2 separate regions of the Homo sapiens genome follow, and region 1 is linked to region 2. Evidence: promoter capture Hi-C in 16 types of primary human blood cells and fetal thymus (Javierre and others, 2016). All regions are on one chromosome and are shown on one strand. Each heading gives the region's core, a stretch centred on a gene start or on the middle of the fragment in contact. The rest is flanking DNA. Distances are from core to core; before and after follow the strand shown. Region 1 overlaps MIOS-DT (MIOS divergent transcript). Region 2 holds the start of ZDHHC4 (zDHHC palmitoyltransferase 4).

What was found. The method cuts DNA at HindIII sites, captures the fragments that hold promoters and counts their contacts. A CHiCAGO score of 5 or more calls a contact.
Region 1: a fragment that was not itself captured here is called in contact with the fragment with the promoter of ZDHHC4 in region 2 in 1 of 17 cell types (monocytes); the score reaches 5.0 in monocytes.

What each region holds. Positions count from the first base shown.
Region 1 is chr7:7,562,679-7,565,559 of GRCh38, forward strand. MIOS-DT (MIOS divergent transcript) reads right to left here. Exons shown (of 5, transcript NR_110084.1): 2 at 1,559-1,646. Among named protein-coding and RNA genes, the nearest start is that of MIOS-DT, 1.9 kb to the right of the region's middle. The HindIII fragment of the contact is 984 bases long and covers 1,049-2,032 here.
Region 2 is chr7:6,576,059-6,578,848 of GRCh38, forward strand. ZDHHC4 (zDHHC palmitoyltransferase 4) reads left to right here and starts at 1,396. Exons shown (of 8, transcript NM_001134389.2): 1 at 1,396-1,440; 2 at 2,508-2,662. RefSeq lists a silencer at 1,416-1,745 and an enhancer at 2,024-2,639. The HindIII fragment of the contact is 1,968 bases long and covers 1-1,468 here.

The DNA.
Region 1 (2,881 bases), core at 291-2,790, 990 kb after region 2:
TTTTAAGATATCTCTGATCTTCTGATCTTCAACCTATGTGAAAAGATTACCTAAGCCATGGCACATGTTTACAGGGCTTCATTTCAGCTTGATACCTGCCCAGCCTCCATCTAAAAGCAAAACTTGCTCTCAGGTACAGACTGATTTTGTGCATGTGGAAATAAAAAGAATTGGGATTAGCCAGTCACAGACTTCACAAAATGTTCCAGTACTGTAGTAACTGAATTGCTGCCAGGAGCAGCTGTAAATAAGAAAGAAATTCGCTGTCCTTCAACTGCAATCCTTCTGGTTTTAAAACCACAACAAAAATCCTCTCCTGGATCACCACAACATAAATGAAGAATCTTAAAAAGAACATCCTGGCCAAGCGCAGTGGCTCATGCCTGTAATCCCAGCACTTTGGGAGGATGAGGCAGGCAGATCACTTGAGGTCAGGAGTTCGAGACCAGCCTGGCCAACATGGTGAAATCCCATCTCTACTGAAAATATAAAAATTAGCCAGGCATGGTGGCGCATGCCTGTAATCCCAGCTACTCAGGAGGCTGAGGCAGGAGAATCACTTGAACCTGGGAGGCAGTGATTGTGGTGAGTTGAGACTACACCACAGCACTCCAGCCTGGGCGACAGAGCGAGGCTCCATCTCAAAAAAACAACAATAAAAAAATCCTATTAGGAATACAAAAGCTTAAATTAAAAACAAACAAAATACCGAGACTGAACTACAGTGGCCCTAGGATCTATTGTAAAACGCATGTTTAGTAAAGGCAACTAGTGTAATCTCAGACCAGTCTGTCAAGTTCTCTGCTACGGTTTACTGTTTCCAAAGATACAAAGCACTCACTCAACTCAGTAAATATTTTTTGGATACCTATGCAACAGGTGCTAAGGGAAATCCAAAGTTCCATGCTAAAAGATTGCTACCTGCAAGGATCTTGGTTTAGTAGAGAAGGGGAATCAGTTTCCAAAAAGACTGAGAAAGGTGTCACTTATTCCTGTGAGGGGCTTTAGAAGAATTAGTGGCAATATGAAAAAATATATACTTTCACAAAGCTTGAGTGGAAAAGAAAGTTGAAAAAGGGACATTAGCTGGAGGAGGATGTAGAATAAATACGTTGTTTTAGGATTTATTCAATACATTTTTATTTACCACATTTATTAGGTACTGTTTTACATCCTGGTGATTAAGCAGAGAATAAAATAGACAGAGCCCCTCTGTTTTAATTAGGGAATTGGCTAAGCTGCTCTACCAGGTCCAAACAAACAATGATTTTTTAAAGAACAAAGTTTATTTTCTCTTGCATAATGGTCCAGAAGTCTGTGGTTGATCCAAGGGAGGAGGTGCCCCAGCTCCCTGAGATTAGTTTGGGACTTAGGCTAGTGAGAACAGCTTTGCCTTCCTTAATACATGGCTTCCATTTCCAGTCTGTATTTCTTTTTGCCATTTGCCAGACAGCAAGAAGAGGGAAGAGAAAGTGTATAGCAAGCAGCTTTCCTTTTAAGGGACATGATCCAGTTCTACTCACATCTTACAGGACATAACTTTTTGATATAGCCTTACCTTGCTGAAAGGGAGGCCAAGGAATGTCATGTCTAAGTAGGTCACCAAGTGCCCTGCTCAAATTTGAATGTAGAGTTATTTCCTCTTACTAAAAAGAAAAAAAATACAGAATGAAAACTGGAGATAAGGAGAAGACACAGTCTAGAAGATAACTATAGGAAAGTAAAGAGATGGCGACGTATGTGAAGTTGTGGTGTCATAAAGACAACAACAAAGGAGCTAATTTATAGGTAGTCAGTGACAAGTGAGCAGTCTTGAGTAAAGGGAGAGTATGAGTCATGTAGATTTCTGCATTCCAGACAGAGGGAATAGCTAGTGAAGAAGCCCTGAGGCAAGAGCATGCTTGTCATGTTTAAGGAACAGTGAAGTCACAGGGATAAAAGACAAACCAGAAGAAAGTGATGATATGCAACAAAGTGAATGAGACATGTCAAGAGAGGAAGTAGTCAAGAACAACAGAAGTTGCAAGAGTGAAGCTTTGGCCATTGAAACTGGCAGCATGGAGCTCACAGGTGACCTTGACAAGTGGCAGTTTCGTGGCATGGTGGGCATGAAGGACTGAATGGAGTGAATTCAAGGGAGAGAGGGGGAAGTGGAATTACAGAGAGCAAATATGATCCTCTCCTTTGAAGAGAAAATGGGAATAACTTGAGTATGTGTTGAAAGTAAAGAACCAGTAGAAATGGAGAGGCAAAGATACATGGAAGTGAAGTAATTGATGGTGCAAGGTCCCAGAAGAGGAGATATACATGGGGTTCCTCCTCTTACTCTTTGTCACCTAAAAGAAGGTAAGAATGGTAGTGAATCAAGATGTTGGAGGAGGGAAGGAGGAAGCAGTGGGAGGTTGTGCAAATTCTAGCTAATAGTTTTAATTTTCTTTTCTGAAGTAGGAGGCAGTGTCATCTCCTGAGTGCAAGCAGAAAAGTTGTCCTCAACTATGTATAGTAGGAGTGGATAAGGAAGAGATTTGTATTGATCTGAGGTTTTGTGTGGGGGTTTGAGGCCAGGGTCAAAACCACTGAGAAGATTGGCAAGATAGTGTTTGAAGTGATGAATACTGTCATGTCTCCTCTCAGTAATACAGCACTTTCTTCAGCCTACATTCTTCTAATGGCAGGATTGGAAAGGCAATACTTTCCCCAAACTCATCATCTTATCAAAACCATCTGCCACCAAGATCATCAGGACTAAGCTCATTATGCTGTTTACAGCCATCACCACCACAAGCCCAAGACCACCCACTTTTAATCATGAACAGACAAGCAAAGACTGTCAGACATCTGAAGACTGCCTCGAGGTCAGACTCGTGACACCTGAGGCAGC
Region 2 (2,790 bases), core at 146-2,645:
AGGAGTTTCATAAAAAGGAAAAGAAAACGCATCAAGAAGCTGACGTAGGTAGCAAAGAGACAGGAAAAGAGAAGAGCTTTAAGGCCAGTGTTTGGAGATCAGACATTTCCCCTCAAAGGAGGACAGGCCTGGCTCAGGTCTTCAGAGGCATCAGGAATAGACCCTGGCCTCAGCTGATTCAGAGATGGTCAGAGCAAAGGACACCCCACAGGGCCTTCTCAGGGCTATGTTTGGAAGCAGCTCTTGTTACCCCAAGCCTGCCTAGCATCAAACACCCTTCCCTTTTATCCTCAACGTTTGTGGTCAAGTATTTGTCACTGCCCCGAGGATATTTAGGGCTGTACAGAGCAACATGTCCTTGTCATCAGGAGCAAGGACACACATGGAGCGGAATCTGACTGATGGGTACACATTGTGCTTTCTGCCCGCTTCTGCAACGGAAGATGCTGGAAATGTTCTGCTAGATCTCAACAGTGTGGGTGGCTGAAAGCAAACTCTGTCCACCACACAGACATAGTCTGAGAGCCCCCTAAGTGTGACTGCCCTGGGCCACCTGGATCCCCCTGCTGGGCTCTGAGCAGGGACATGACTGGTCTCTGTGCAGGCCGCAGGGCAGCTTAGTCCCTGTCACAGCCCCAGAATGATCGCCCCCACCAGGCCCAGGTCGGTCCTCCTGTAAGTCTCCTGGCAATACTGCTCTAAAATCCCACTTCCAGCCCAGTGCAGGGACTCACGCCTGTAATCTCAACACTCTGGGAGGCCGAGGTGGGAGGATCACTTGAGCCCGGGAGTTCGAGATCAGCTTGGGCAACATAGTGAGACACCCGTCTCTACAAAAAAAAAAAAAAAAAAAAAAAAATTAGGCGGGTGTGGTGGCATGCACCTGTGGTCCCAGCTACTTGGGAGGCTGAGGCAGGAGGCATTGCTTGAGCCCAGGAGTTGGAGGTTGTAGTGTGCTAGGATAGCGCCATTGCACTCCGGCTTGGGCGACAGAGCGAGGCTGTTTCTGAATGAATGAACGAATACATAAGTAAATAAGAAAATAGGTAATACATAAAATAAAATAAATAAAATAAAATAAAATAAAATAAAATAAAATAAAATAAAATAAATAAAATAAAATAAATAAAATAAAATAAATAAAATAAAATAAATAAAATAAAATAAATAAAATAAAATAAAATAAAATAAAATAAAATAAAATAAAATAAAATAAAATAAAATAAAATCGCACTTCCCAGCGGTTACACCCGGCCACGGAGGTCCCCAGGCTGGCTGCGAGGGCGCCGGGGAGGTCACTGTTACTCCAGCCCCGCAACCCGCGGCGGCCCTCGCACACTTCCGCCGGAAGTCAGCCCCTCAGGGGCGCCGTGCTGATGTCACGAGCCCGCAGGAAGTCTCGTATCGCGCCCGGGAGGCGCCGGAGCCCAGCGGCTGGCGGTAAGGCCGCCTCCGCGGGGCTGTGGGAAGCTTGGGCTGTCCCAGGACCGTCAGTCTCCTCCTCTGACCCTCCCTTTCCCCTTGTGTGTAGGGCCGCCGTCCCACCCCCACCTCGCCCGAGTCCGGGGCGGCCCCGGTGTCCCCTCCGAGCCTGCTGCACTCCACGTCCCCCTACCAGGGCTCCAGCCCCCAGGGAAATCTCCGACCAGGCCCGCCCAGGAGGTGCCTTGGATGGGGGTGGCTTCGGGAGGCCCTAATGGGGAGTGGCGGGGAGAGACCCAAGGCTACCGACTTGGCTTATTTCTTCCCAACTAGCTGTTTCTCACAAAGTCTTTATTATTATTGTATTTTGAGACGGGGTTTCGCTCTTGTTTCCCAGGCTGTAGTGCAGTGGCGCGATCTCGGCTTACTGCACCCTCCGCCTCCCGGATTCAAGCAATTCTGCCTCAGCCTCCCCAGTAGCTTGGATTACAGGCATGCGCCATCACGCCCAGCTAATTTTTTTTGTATTTAGTAGAGACGGATTTCACCATGTTGGTCAGGCTGGTCTCGAACTCCTGACCTCAGGTGTTCTACCCGCCTCGGCCTCCCAAAGTGCTGGGATTATAGGCGTGAGCCACCGCGCCCGGCCTCTTTTATTGTTTTTAGAGATGGGGTCCAGCTCTATGGCCCAGGCTGGAAGGCAGTGGCACGATCACAGCTCACTGCAGCCTCGACCTCCTGGGCTCAAGCCATCCTTCCACCTCAGCCTCCCAAGTAGCTGGGACCACAGGCGCGGGCCACCACGCCCCACTGATTTTTAAATTTTTATGTAGGGACAGTGATCTCACTGTGTTGCCCAGGCTGGTCTCGAACTCTTAACCTCAAGCTATCCTCCTGCCTGGGCCTCCCAAAGATTTGGGAGCAGGCCTAAGCAACTTAGTCTGGGCCATTTCTCCCAAAGTCTTACCCATTCATGCTGGGGGTGCTGAAAATCCCCTACTTCCAAATCCTTTTCCACAGGTATTCTGCCTTTGACTGCAACTCTTGTCGTCTTATGTGGGTGTTGAATTGATCTGTCTCTGCAGCCAGATCCAGGCTCCTGGAAGAACCATGTCCGGCAGCTACTGGTCATGCCAGGCACACACTGCTGCCCAAGAGGAGCTGCTGTTTGAATTATCTGTGAATGTTGGGAAGAGGAATGCCAGAGCTGCCGGCTGAAAATTACCCAACCAAGAGAAATGTAGGCTGGGTACCCTGAATCACCCCGTGAGAATTGCTGCTGTTTGTTTACTCTCACCTATCATGTCATGAATAGCTTCTTGTTTGGTTATCTCACTTGGCATTACAGCCCAGAATCTTATCTGCTAA